Linked DNA regions of Homo sapiens: regions 1 and 2 are each linked to region 3. The links are contacts of gene promoters, found by promoter capture Hi-C in human tissues and cell types (Jung and others, 2019). All regions are on one chromosome and are shown on one strand. The core of a region is centred on a gene start or on the middle of the fragment in contact, and the rest is flanking DNA. Distances in the headings are between cores, read along the strand shown. Region 1 overlaps UBAP2 (ubiquitin associated protein 2). Region 2 overlaps UBAP2 (ubiquitin associated protein 2). Region 3 holds the start of UBAP1 (ubiquitin associated protein 1).

Evidence for each region. The method cuts DNA at HindIII sites, captures the fragments that hold promoters and counts their contacts. A contact is called where the count stands out against the background at its distance.
Region 1: a fragment that was not itself captured here is called in contact with the fragment with the promoter of UBAP1 in region 3 in 1 of the 25 tissues and cell types used here (dorsolateral prefrontal cortex).
Region 2: a contact is called between a fragment that was not itself captured here and the fragment with the promoter of UBAP1 in region 3, in 2 of the 25 tissues and cell types used here (dorsolateral prefrontal cortex and heart left ventricle).

Annotation. Positions count from the first base shown.
Region 1 is chr9:33,921,935-33,926,118 of GRCh38, reverse strand. It overlaps UBAP2 (ubiquitin associated protein 2), which reads left to right. Exons shown (of 29, transcript NM_001370062.2): 23 at 1,835-1,913; 24 at 2,119-2,324; 25 at 2,641-2,740; 26 at 2,826-2,933; 27 at 3,086-3,153; 28 at 3,241-3,432; 29 at 3,520-4,184. The coding sequence ends at 3,615. Among named protein-coding and RNA genes, the nearest start is that of SNORD121B, 10 kb to the left of the region's middle. RefSeq lists an enhancer at 764-1,003. The HindIII fragment of the contact is 6,345 bases long and covers 1-4,184 here.
Region 2 is chr9:33,982,709-33,987,430 of GRCh38, reverse strand. It overlaps UBAP2 (ubiquitin associated protein 2), which reads left to right. Exons shown (of 29, transcript NM_001370062.2): 6 at 594-671. Among named protein-coding and RNA genes, the nearest start is that of SNORD121A, 32 kb to the right of the region's middle. The HindIII fragment of the contact is 4,647 bases long and covers 1,033-4,722 here.
Region 3 is chr9:34,177,569-34,181,687 of GRCh38, reverse strand. UBAP1 (ubiquitin associated protein 1) reads right to left here and starts at 2,645. Exons shown (of 7, transcript NM_016525.5): 1 at 2,448-2,645. RefSeq lists enhancers at 723-1,680, 1,681-2,637, 2,403-2,832, 2,638-3,596. The HindIII fragment of the contact is 11,539 bases long and covers 1-4,119 here.

The DNA of each region.
Region 1 (4,184 bases), core at 1,515-4,014, 260 kb after region 3:
CCTCCCATCTAGATTTGTGAGAATGCCTGCCCTGGGACGTCCCTGGTGGTTGCAGCCTTACTCTGAGACCAGGGTTGCCTCTTTCTTCTGACCGTTGGTGCCAGAATGCAGTGTGGGCCTTTCCTGGGATAGCCACATGAACAGAACTGTGGGGACAGAGGGGAATAGGCCCGCTCCTTGCCCTGCCCATGGGCAGGACTTCCTCCTGGGAGCCACTGTCTTCTTGCTCTGCCATTTCCCAGGGCACTTGTCAGAGAGTTGCAGGCAGTTTGGACACCACCTCTGCTGGATACAGTCTTTCCTGTTGCTGGAGGAAGAGGCTTTCTCCCTTGTGCAGTGATGCCTTCTTCCCCGTGGGTGTTGCTCCCTTCTCTGCTGCACCACAAAGAGCTGACGGAGCTGCTCTTGTTTCAGAAGAGTAGCCCTTTCCACTGGCTGGCCGTATTTCCAGAAGCAGAGGCCTAGCCTGGGAGCGGAGCGGCTTCTCCCCACTGTGCAAACCAGCAGCCCTTTAATCTGCCGGCCAAAGGCCCAAACTGCAGGAGGTGGTGCTGAGCCCCGGGATTCATTCTGCTTCAGGGGCTCTCCGTGGTCTCCACACTTATTCACAGCACTCTTTTGGCTTTTATCACTTTGTGCCTTAGAGAAAACACCCTCTGGAGCCCACCTTTTGAGATATGTTGCTCTTTCTATCCCTCGGGTTGTTTGTTCACCTCTGCTGCTTGTGAGCCTAGTTCCTGCCTGGAGAATTCTCGTGTTCTGTGAAAGTGCTCCCCCTTCTGGGCTTTCTCTGCTCCCGTCCTCAGTTGTGCAGCTCTGTGTGTTCCCAGCTCTGCCTCTTCCGGGGGTTCTAGGCTGCTATGGGTTTCCGGGAGGTTTCCTGGAGGGTGTGAGTGCCATTCCCAGCCAGGATGGCTCCTTTCTGGGATCGGGCACAGCCCAAGGGCTTTGCCTTTCCTCAGGGGCCAGGTGTGTCCAGGAGTGCGAGGCCCTGGATGGTGAGTGAGGGTCAGGTCAGACCTCCCCTCCTCCACGAAGCTCCACTGTGCTTTGCCGTCTCTGTCTCCACACTTTGTTGTATCTGCCATACTTCCCCCAAGTCCTGGGCCAGGGGTGTCCAATGTTTTGGCTTCCTTGGGCCACATTGAAAGAATAATTGTCTTGGGCCACACATAAAATACACTAACATTAAAGATAGCTGATGAGCTTAAAAAAATTGCAAACAAATTTCATGTTTTAAGAAAGACGAATTTGTGTTGGGCCACATTCAAAGCTGTCATGGGCCGTGGGTTGGACAAGCTTGTCCTAGGCCATGTCAGTGTTTTGAGAGCAGTGTAGGTGGTGACAGGCCAGTTCTGGGCTTCACCTGGGGTCCTGCTTATTCCCGTGCCTACCTGGCACTGCCCCCTGTCCCCCCTTAAACCTTTCAGGCCCCTGCACTTCTGTTGCCTCCTTTTTCAGGTCTGCTCTGTTTAGTCAGCTTTCCTAGCTGCTCTAGTCTCTCACACAGAAAAGCCAGCGAAGTTGGTTCAGCCCGAGGCATTCACACAAGCACCTGCCTGTGGTGTCAAATGGATGTGTGAGGCTTGGTCTCCAGCAGCTCTGCCTGGTGAAGCTGCAGGGTTGGCCGGTCTGTGTGCTTATGTGTTAGGCAGGCCGCCTAGTTGCACACTCTTCCGAGGGGCACCATTTACTTGGCGTTCCCTGGGACTGCTGGCTCTCAGGCATGGAGTCTGTTTCAGGAGTGTGGCGTCACCACTTCCATGTGCTGGTTCTGCTCTCCTGGGAGTCAAGCAGGGCCAGTCGCTGATCAAGCCTCCCTGGTCTCTCCTAGGACTACTATGGAATTCCCTTTGCTGCACCCACAGCGCTTGCCAGCCGAGATGGGAGCCTAGCTAATAATCCATATCCAGGTGAGTTTGCTCAATGGATGAGGAGTAGCCCGGGGCCGGCCTAGCGCGAACTCCAGGAGCTGGGAAGCAGCAACAGCAAGCTGAGAGAGGCCTCTTAGTAGCCTGTGCTGAGCTGGCAGCCAGACCTGTTCCTGTTTGCAGAAGCCAGTGTGGCCTTTCTCTGGTTGGAGGAAGGGCAGTGGCTGGAGTCAGTGCTCTTTCCTAGGTGATGTCACAAAGTTTGGCCGTGGGGACTCTGCATCCCCTGCACCCGCTACCACACCAGCTCAGCCACAGCAGAGCCAATCACAGACCCACCACACAGCCCAGCAGCCCTTCGTGAATCCTGCACTGCCACCTGGCTATAGCTACACTGGTCTTCCCTACTACACAGGCATGCCCAGTGCCTTCCAGTATGGCCCCACCATGTTTGTGAGTATTTCAGAGGGTGTGACTGTGTCTCCTGGCCTTGGGTTGCTGGCAGGTGGAAACCTGGGACCTATCTTCCAGCAGGGAGGGAGGGTTGTGATTCCACTCCGTCTTACCTGGTCTTCAGAAACTGTTCAGGCTGGGGACAAGGTCACTTTTCCCCTGCTGTGTTTAGATCCAGCATGTGTTGCACTAATGAAAACACAGGTCCCCTGTGGTTGTGGGTATGTCACCTGCTGCCTTAGGCTCTGGCAGGGGTACCTGACCAGCCTCAGCTTGCCTCTTCCTACACTAATACCTCATCTGCTTGCCCCCCCAGGTCCCTCCAGCCTCAGCCAAGCAACATGGGGTGAACCTCAGCACTCCCACACCTCCCTTCCAGCAGGCCAGTGGTTATGGCCAGCACGGCTACAGTACAGGTGAGGGGTACTTCCCAGACAGAGACACATGGGGTTAGACAGGCTTGCCTGGCTCACACTTGCCTCTTGTACCCTGCCACGCTAGGTTATGACGACCTGACCCAGGGGACAGCAGCAGGAGACTACTCCAAAGGTGGCTATGCTGGATCATCGCAGGCACCAAACAAGTCTGCAGGTTCTGGGCCTGGCAAAGGTAGTGTTTACCTCTCCTTTCCAGGATAAGGCCTGGAGTGGTGGGCTCCTGCCTGATCCCCTCTCAGGCAGGGCAACCCCTGAGTGATCCTGGAGGTGGGGAGCCTGGAGCTGGGAACAACTGCTGTGGGGAACAACTGCTTTTCCTCCTAGGAGTATCAGTGTCTTCAAGCACCACTGGTCTACCTGATATGACTGGTTCTGTCTACAATAAGACACAGGTGAGGGACAAAGGTGGGTTGGGTGTATAGGTTTTTGAGAGGTTACAGCCCAACCTGACCTTCACCATTGTCTTCTTTGCCCTGTAGACTTTTGACAAGCAGGGATTTCATGCAGGGACGCCTCCACCTTTCAGCCTGCCCTCGGTCTTGGGCTCCACTGGGCCCCTGGCCTCGGGAGCGGCCCCTGGCTATGCACCCCCACCATTCCTACACATCTTGCCAGCCCACCAGCAGCCCCACTCACAGCTGCTGCACCACCACCTTCCGCAGGATGCACAGGTGAGTACAGTGATGGAGGCAGCCACCCTACTCTGGGCCAGGGGTTCTGCTCCAGCCTTGACAGCCTTCCCTTCTCCTCTTCCTCAGAGTGGCTCGGGTCAGCGCAGCCAGCCCAGCTCCCTGCAGCCCAAGTCTCAAGCCTCCAAACCTGCCTACGGCAACTCTCCATACTGGACAAACTAAACCCAGAAGAGAGGGGTGGGCTGGGGCAAGGCTTATCCTGGGCAGGAGAGAACACACGAGCACGTATTTGGGAGCCCAGTGCCCTTTCCTAGAATTCCCGACATGTGTCAGCCATGCCTCTGTGGGGAGTCTGCCTCCCAGACTGGCTACTGTATGTAATGTATTTATGTATGTATTTGTAAATGTGATAGAAGTCTGGGGGGGAGTTGGGGGATGGCGGCAGATGTTAGCCAGGTCTGCCCTCCCCATTCAAGCCCCTTCTCCACTGTAGCAAAATAAGCACCCCCACCCCATCTGCCTTCAGGTCTTCTTCACAGCCTGCACTGCCCAGTGGGCCACTAGGGGCAGTCTCTGGAAGGGCTGGTTCAAGGCTGTTTGGGTATAGGGGTCAGGTACCAATGAAGAATCACGACTTGTCTCACTCCTTTGGAAATTGTTTTCTTTCCTGTGTAATTACTTCATACCTCTGTTTTTGAGAAACTGTTCCGTTTGTCATCTGTCATGGTCTCCTTCCACCAAATCTTCATCTGGGAATAGCAGCGGTATCCCTCCACCCAAGTATGGCCACC
Region 2 (4,722 bases), core at 2,107-4,606, 190 kb after region 3:
TGTATGTTGTATTTTTTCTGAGACAGAGTCTTGCTCACTTTCCCAGGCTGGAGTGCAGTGAGGAGATCTCGGCTCACTGCAACCTCCGCCTGTTGGGTCCAAGCAATTCTCCTGCCTTAGCCTCTCGAGTAGCTGGGACTATAGGTGCGCGCCACCACACTTGGCTAATTTTTATATTTTTTGGTAGAGACAGGGTTTCCGTGTGTTAGCCAGGCTGGTCTTGAACTCCTGGCCTCAAGTGATCCACCCGCCTCAGCCTCCCAAAGTGCTGGAATTATAGGTGTGAGCCACTGTGCCTGGCCAATTTTTGTATTTTTTTGTATGTTGCCCAGGCTGGTCTCAAGCTCTTGGGCTCAAGAGATCTGCCCCCCTCAGCTGGAAATTACAAGTGCTGGAATTACAAGTGTAAGCCACTGTGCCTGACCTCATTCAGTTTTTAAGTCACTTTTGTTTTTGTTTTTCCTGTTTTTGAACCCGTTGTTTAAATTGTAGCCTGTTTGTCATTCCTTCTTTGCCTTTAATAGGTGCTTGATAAGGTTATGTACAAGAGGTTTGGAAATGGAAATTTGATTTTTCTGCTCTTTTCCCCCTAGTTAGAGGTGAAGAAAATGGAATTGATTGCAATCAAGTGGACAAACCTTCAGATCGTGGCAAGCGAGCCCGGGGTAGAGGTAAGCTAGAGTAAGAGGGAAGAAAATGCTTTCAATTAGGGGGAAGAAGCAGGCAGTTGCGTTGCTGGACTGTGACTAGGGATGGCAGTGTGTTCTGAAAGAATAGCAGGTCATCTAAAATCTGATCATTTGTTTACTGATGCCTGTAAATGAACTATTTTGGGTTATGTAGTTTTGAAGAAACCAAAGGGTTGTTTTTGGATGAGCTGAGAAAGCCCTATGAATAATTTAAAACTTAAAGCTCTAACCAAAAGCATTGACAAATTATAATTGTATTACGTTTGGAATACAATGCAATAGGGTTTTTTAAACCTTATTTTAAAAATACTTTATTGCTAAAAAAGGCTATGATCATTTGAGCTTTCAGTGAGTTGTAGTCTTTTTGCTCTAGTCCTCACTTCTAGCTATTTTGAAGTGTATAATACGTAATTGTTAAGTAGTCATCTTACTCTACTGTTGAACATTAGAACTTATTCCCTTTTTTTGAGACCCTGCCTGGCTAACACAAGGAAACCCTGTCTCTACCAAAAAATATAAAAAATAGCTAAGTGTGGTGGCACGCACCTGTAGTCCCAGCTACTTGAGAGGCTAAGGCAGGAGAATTGCTTGGACCCAAGAGGTGGAGGTTGCAGTGAGCCGAGATCTCCTCACTGCACTCCAGCCTGGGCAAGTGAGCAAGACTCTGTCTCAGAAAAAATACAAAATACAAAAAAATACAAAAATTATCCAGGCATAATTAAATGCAGGGTCTTACTTTGTCACCCAGGCTGGAGTGCAGTGGCATCATCTCAGCTAACTGCAACCTCCACCTCCTGGGCTCAAACAATCCTCCTACTTACCCTCCTGAGTAGCTGGGACTACAGGTGCACGCCACCATGCCCAGCTAATTTTTGTATTTTTGCTAGACATGGGGTTTTACCATGTTGGCCAGGCTGGTCTCAAACTCCTGGCCTCAAGTGATCCACCTGCCTAATCCTCCCAAAGCGGTAGGATTACAGGCATGAGCCACCGAGCCCGGCCTAGAATTTATTCCTTCTCTCTGTGTTTTAACCTATCCACCAATCTCTCTTTATTCCCCACCCTCTATACCCATCACCTTCTCTGCCTCTGGTAACTATCATTCCACTCTCTACCTGCATGAGATAACCTTTTTAGCTCCCACATGAGTGAGTACGTGTGATATTTATCTTTCTGTGTCTGGTTTATTTTATTTAACACAATGTCTTCCAAGTCCATTCATGTTGCTCCAAAGGACGTGATTTCATTCTTTTATGGCTGAGTAGTATTCCAACCTGTAAATATATCACTTTTTAAAATCCATTCATCTGTTGATGAACACTTAGGTTGATTCTCTATATTTGTGAATATTGTGAATAGTGCTTCACTTCAAAATAGCTAGAAGTGAGGACTTGAAAAGTTCCCAACACATAGAAATGATAAATGCTCATGGTAACGGATATCCTAAATACCTCAACTTGATAATTATATATTCTCTGCATGTAACAAAGTACCACATGTACCCCATAAATTTGTTTAAATATTATGTATCTGTAAAAAGTTAAAAATTAAAAAAAAATAGAAATTGCCACAGCCACCACAACCTGGCAAACATGAAGCACTATTGGTTTCCTTTTCTTTGTATAAATATCTGCTAATGGGATTGCTGGATCATACGGTAATTCAATTTTTTGTTTTTGATAAATCTCCATACTGTTTTCCAAAATGGCTGTACCAGTTTATATTCCCACCAATAGTGTATGAGAGTTCCCTTTTCCCTGTATCTTCACCAGCATCTGTTTAATTTGCTTAATTAGTTAAATGCAGTGTCATGATCATAACTCATTGCAGTCTTGAACTCCTGGGTTCAGGCAATCTTCCTGTTTCAGCCACCTCAGTAGTTGGGATTACAGGCTATTTTTTGTCTTTTTGATAATAGCCGTTCTAACTGGGGTAAGATGATATCTCATTGTGGTTTTCATTTGTATTTTATTGATGTTTAGTGATGAGCATTTTTTGTGTACCTTTTGGCCATTTGTATATTGTCTTTTTAGATCCTTTGTCTACTGTTTTTTTTTCTCTTAAGAGACAGTGTCTCACTCTGTTGCCCAGGCTGGAGTGCAGTGGCATGATCATAACTTACTGCAACCTTGAAATCCTGGGCTCAAGTGATACTTCCACCTCAGCCTCCTGAGCAGCTGGGACTATAGGCATGAGCCCCACCATGCCTGGCTAATTTAAAGAAAAAAAAAAATTTTTTTTTTAAGAGATGGGGTCTTGCAATGTTGCCCAGGTTGGTCTGGAACTCCTGGCCTCAAGCTGTCCTCCTACCTCAGTGTCCCAAATCTCAGGGATTACAGGTGTGAGCTACTATGCCCAGCTGTTTGCATACTTTTTAATGGGATTATTTATATTTTGGCTGTTGAGTTGTTTAGATTCCTTGTATTGTCTGAATATTAGTCCCTTTTCAGATGAATATCATCCTGCAAATTTCTTAGATGATACTTCCTTAATGCTGAGGCTAAATTGGAGACCATATTTTTAAATCCCAGGGATTCAGGCCGGGTGTGGTGGCTCATACCTGTAATCCCAGCACTTTGGGAGGCCAAGGTGGGCAGATCACTTGACATTAGTAGTTCGAGACCACCCTGGCCAACATGGTAAAACTCCATCTCTAATAAAAATACAAAAATTAGCTGGGCATGGTGGTGTGTGCCTGTAGTTCCAGCTACTCGGGACGCTGAGGCACGAGAACTGGGGGAAGTGGAGGCTGCAGTGAGCCGAGATTGTACCATTGCACTCTAGCCTGTGTGACAGAGTGATGCTCTGTCTCAAATAAAAAAATCCCAGGGATTCAGTATTATTCTAGGTAAAGTTTCTTGTCATATGCCACATAGTAAATTGGTAAAAACCAAGTATAATTCTGTCTTCCACAAGCTGAAACTGCTTAGTATTTTTTATATTTAGGACCAGGTTTCTGTAAAGTAAGTTTCAAACTTACTATTGTCAAAGATAGAAAGATGGCAACGAAGAGTGTTGGCACGTACACCTCTGCTAATTTATTAGGTCCTAAACCCTGAAGTACACACCTTGGGAAGAAAAAGAAAATAGAAGGTAACAAAAAGAAAGAATAAAATGACTTTATTGACCCCTAAATTTTACTGTGTCTCACCAGGGAGGGCGGTCACAGTATAAGACCAACGTTATGTGTGTGATTAGTCCTTACCACCCTGTTCTGGTTAAAATATCATTGTTCTGATATTCCTTTGTTCTTAAGGTTTTAGGAATACATAGTAACCCAGCTTCTTCCCCTCTTACCAGGGAGAGGGTTTTCTTTCCTAGGGTATTTGATCTCTCACATGCTTCTGCTGGCATTAGTGGGCGTCTTAGAGAAATCGTCAAATCTTCATGACTGAAATCCCACTACTGACTACACTGTTGAATCCTTTACTTTTACCCTTTGACAGTAGGAATCTAGTCACAGTATGTATTTGGATTGGTTGTTTAGAGACATGTTTAAGGATTACAAGCTGATCCATGTCATAAATCAGACAGATTTATTGTTATAAAAACACATTATAGGGGGGCCGGGCACCGTGGCTCACATCTGTAATCCCAGCACTTTTGGAGGCCGAGGCGAGCAGATCACGAGGTCAGGAGTTCGAGACCAGCCTGGCCATCATAGTGAAACCCTGTCTCTACTCAAAATACAAAAAAATTAGCTGGGTATGGTGGCATGTGCCTGTAGTCCCAGCTACTTGGAGGCCGGGGCAGAGAATTGCTTGAACCTGGGAGGCGGAGGTTGCTGTGAGCCGAGATCATGCCATGGCACTCCGGCCTGGGTGACAGTGAGACTCTGTCTCAAAAACAAAAAAAAAAAAACAAAAAAAAACACCACACATTATAGGGGATAACCAGTGAATTGGAGATTGAGTATCTGTTAGGATGGGTACTGTTATTACTTTGAGGAAAAAGTTGATATGTTTACCTTGGTTCTATTTAGACTAATAAACCCCAAATAAATAAAAGTTAACAGACCATGTAAAATCACCAT
Region 3 (4,119 bases), core at 1,396-3,895:
GGCCAAGGCGGGCGGATCACGAGGTCAGGAGATCGAGACCATCCTGGCTAACCCAGTGAAACCCCGTCTCTACTAAAAATACAAAAAATTAGCCGGGCGTGGTGGCGGGAGCCCGTAGTCCCAGCTACTCAGGAGGCTGAGGCAGGAGAATGGCGTGAACGCGGGAGGCAGAGCTTGCAGAGAGCCGAGATCGCGCCACTGCACTCCAGCCTGGGCGACAGAGGGAGACTCCGTCTCAAAAAATAAAATAAAATACAAATAAAAATAAAAAAGGCCGGGCGCGGTGGCTCACGCCTGTAATCCCAGCACTCTGGGAGGCCAAGACGGGTGGATCACGAGGTCAGCAGATGGACACCATCCTGGCTAACACGGTGAAACCCCGTCTCTACTAAAAAAATATTTTAAAAAATTAGCCAGGTGTGTGGCAGGCGCCTGTAATCGCAGCTACTGAGGAGGCTGAGGCAGGAGAATGGCAAGCCCGGGAGGCGGAGCTTGCAGTGAGCTGAGATTGCGCCACTGCACTCCAGCCTGGGCACAGAGCGAAACTCTGTCTCAAAAAAAAAAAAAAAAAGAAAACAGGCCGGGTGCGGTGGCTCACGCCTGTAATCCCAGCACTTTCGGAGACCAAGGCCGGAGGATTATTTGAGGTCAGAAGTTCGAGACCAGCCTGACCAACATGGTGAAACCCCGTCTCTACTAAAATACAAAAATTAGCCAGCCGTAGTGGTGGGTGTCTATAATCTCAGCTACTCGGGAGGCTGAGGCAGGACAGTCACTTGAACCCAGGAGGCGGAGGTTGCAGCAAGCCAAGATCGCGCCACTGCACTCCAGCCTGGGCAACAGACCGAGACTCCCTCTGGAAAAAAATAAAAAGAAACAAAAAAAAAAAAAAGTTTTTTTTCCAATGAGGTTCTAGCAGGTTAGTAAAGTTATCTGCTGTGCAATGACAGCGATGGTCACTCACTAAAGAAACATTAAGTTTAGCATTTCTGTAATTATAATGACTCTTATTATTGCAACACACAGTAGCTATTTAATAAACACCATGAATTAATAGAACTAGAAACAAAAATTTAATAAAATTTCACTTATAGTAAGTTAATGCGGACAATGTAATTCTTTTAAGACTTGACACATTTCACATTCTTTGCCATAATACGTAAACTTTTTTTTTTTTTTTGAGTCGGAGTCTCGCTCTGTTGCCCAGGCTGGAGTGCAATGCAGCGATCTAGGCTCACTGCTACCTCCGCCTCCCAGGTTCAAGCCATTCTCCTGCCTCGGCCACCCGAGTAGCTGGGATTACAGGCGCCTGCCACCACGCCCGGCTGGCTTTTTAGTAGAGAAAGGGTTTCAACATGTTGGTCAGGCTGGTCTTGAACTCTTGACCTCGTGATCCGCCCGCCTCGGCCTCCCAAAGTGCTGGGATTTCAGACGTGAGCCACAGCGCCCGGCCAATACGGAAACTTTTAGTTTAGGTTGGGACATTAACTAGAAAGAACTATATATCACTAAAGACTAAGTATCTTGTTTTTCCCACCATCAAATCTGACAAAATTAAAAAGGAAAACATCCATCATATCTATTCAAATTCTCAAATGCTAATAACTGAAGAGACAAAGCACTAACGAGTAAAGTTAGAACAGAATATACGTAATACTTAACTAAATTACCAAATCTGGTTTCGCAACACTGCATGGTGACTAAAAGTAACAATTTTTTTTTCAGTTTAACATAAAACGTATTTTTATGCCCAACCATACTTTTAAGACGCTAGTCTGGAAACAATTACATTTGGCAACAAAGGTCAAAGATCACTGATATAGCTCAAATAAATGAACCTGACGTTCCACAAGAAAGACTGGGGCGGTTCCTGAGGCCCAGGTGGACTGTATAGGTAAGCCTCCACCCAAGAAACAAAAAAGGCGGATAAACATACCTGGAGAAGACCAGACAAGGCCAAAGATATCCCCAAAGATCACTCACCTCTGGTCTAGTCTCCACCTTTTCTCCCCAATCTCATTGCCTCAGGGAGAACTAAATCTACACCGCACGTCCCCAGCTCACCCTCAACTCCCCACCACTCACCTTCTTTACTAAAATCTGGGTCCCCCTCCCTGACATCCTCTAGTTCCCACCGAGTTCTCAGTCCAGCCCGATAGATGTCTACTATGCCTGTCTTCCAGTAGGGTATTAGTCTCCTTAATCCGAACTCATTTTTCCGCATCCCACTTCCCCTCCGCCCCTTCAACTCCGGTCCCCTCACTCCGACCCTTCTCCCAGAATCCTCCCCGAATCGCGGATCTCCGGCCACTTTTCCCTCCCACCTCCTAGCTCCGGCGCCCTTCACCTCGCTCGGCCCCCCATCCCGTTTCCCAGTCTCCCAGTACCAGCCCCCCTCCCCCAACTCCGCCCCTCTTCCCCCTCCCCCAGAGGGAGGCCCCCCTCACCTGAATGCCGCTGCTGCCGCCGTCTCAGAAGCCGAAAGGTGCTGGCACCGGCCGGCCTCCCAGGCTCGGTCCCCGCTGAGCTCCCGACAGCCCCTAGGGAGAGCGAACGCCACCACCTCCAACTCTGCCCGCTCCGGGCCAGGCCGTCACCGTAGCCACCGCCAGTGCCGCAGCCGCCATGTTGAAGTCCTACTTCCCTCCTCCTTCCCCTCACCGCCCCACTCATTTGGGCGTCTGACGTCATGGCGCCGCGCTCCACACGCCCGGACCAATGGGAGGAGCCGACGGTGACATAACTAATCTCTCTTCTAGCGAGGAGCTACTCCGGCAACATGGAGCATTGCAATTGGAATGAGTAAACCCTGCTGACCTAAGGGGGAAGGAGGAAAGGAGGGGGTCACTAAGAGTGTAAGACTTGGGTTTGGCGAGGCGGCCAAAGCGGGAAACCCAAGAGCCTTGAATCGCGAAGGTATGCCCAAAGAGTTAGCAGCGAGTCCTATTTGGGAATTAAGACATCTAGCTTCTGTTCAGGGTCAGCGACCTGGTACAACTCATACCCTTTCTGGACCTCACTTTTCCCATGTATAGAGGACTAAGTTGAAAGGTGACTTCTAGGCCGGGCGCAGTGGCTCACGCCTGTAACTCCAGCACTTTGAGAGGCCGAGGCAGGAGGGTCGCTTGAGCCCGGGAGGTCGAGGCTGCGGTAGCCGTGATCGCGCCACTGCACTCCAGGTGGGCAACGGAACGCGACTCTGTATCAAAAGAAAAAAAAACAAAGGTGACCTCTAAGTCTTCCTTCAATTCTGACATTCTATGGGTTTAAACCAGGTAATCCTATCCCAAGCCTTCACTGCCTTCTGTGGGGGTTTTTGTTGTTGTTGTTGTTTCTGTTTGGGGTGTTTTTTGTTTTTTTGAGACAGGGTCTCGCTCTGTCGCCTAGGCTGGAGTGCAGTGGCGCGATGTTGGCGCACTGCAACCCTGCAACCTCCACCTGTCGGGCTCAAGTGATCCTCCCACCTCAGCCTTCTGAGTAGCTTGGACTATAGCCACATGCCAACACGCCCGGATAATTTTTATTATTTTATATATATATATGGAGAGACGGGGTCTCACCATGTTGCCCAGGCTGGTGGTAAACTTCTGGGCTCAAGCCTCAGTCTCCCAAATTGCTGGGATTGTAGGCGTGAGCCATGGCGCTGGCCTTCTGTGTCTTTCTATGTCTGCTGGAATTAGGAGACAGAGAATTATTAATTGAATAAGATGACTCTTGAGCCCAGGAGTTCAAGACCAATTTAAGCAACATGAGACCCCCGTCTCTACAAAAAGTTTGGTAAAAATTAGGTGAGCCTGGGCAACATAGTGAGACCTTGTCTCTACAAAAACTCAAATTATCTGGGCGTGGTGGCATGTGCCTGTGGTCCTAACTATTCAGGAGGCTGAGATAGGAGGATCACTTGAGCCTGAGAGGTCGAGGCTACAGTGAGCCAGGATTGTGCTGGTGTACTCCAAACATGGGTGACAGAGCAAGATCTTGTCGCAATAAAATAAAATAAAATAAAATGACTAGGCACGATGGCTAACGCCTGTAATCCCAGCACTTTGGGAGGCCAAGATGGTCAGATCTCTTGAGCTCAGGAGTTTGAGACCAGCCTGGGCAACGTGGAGAATCTTC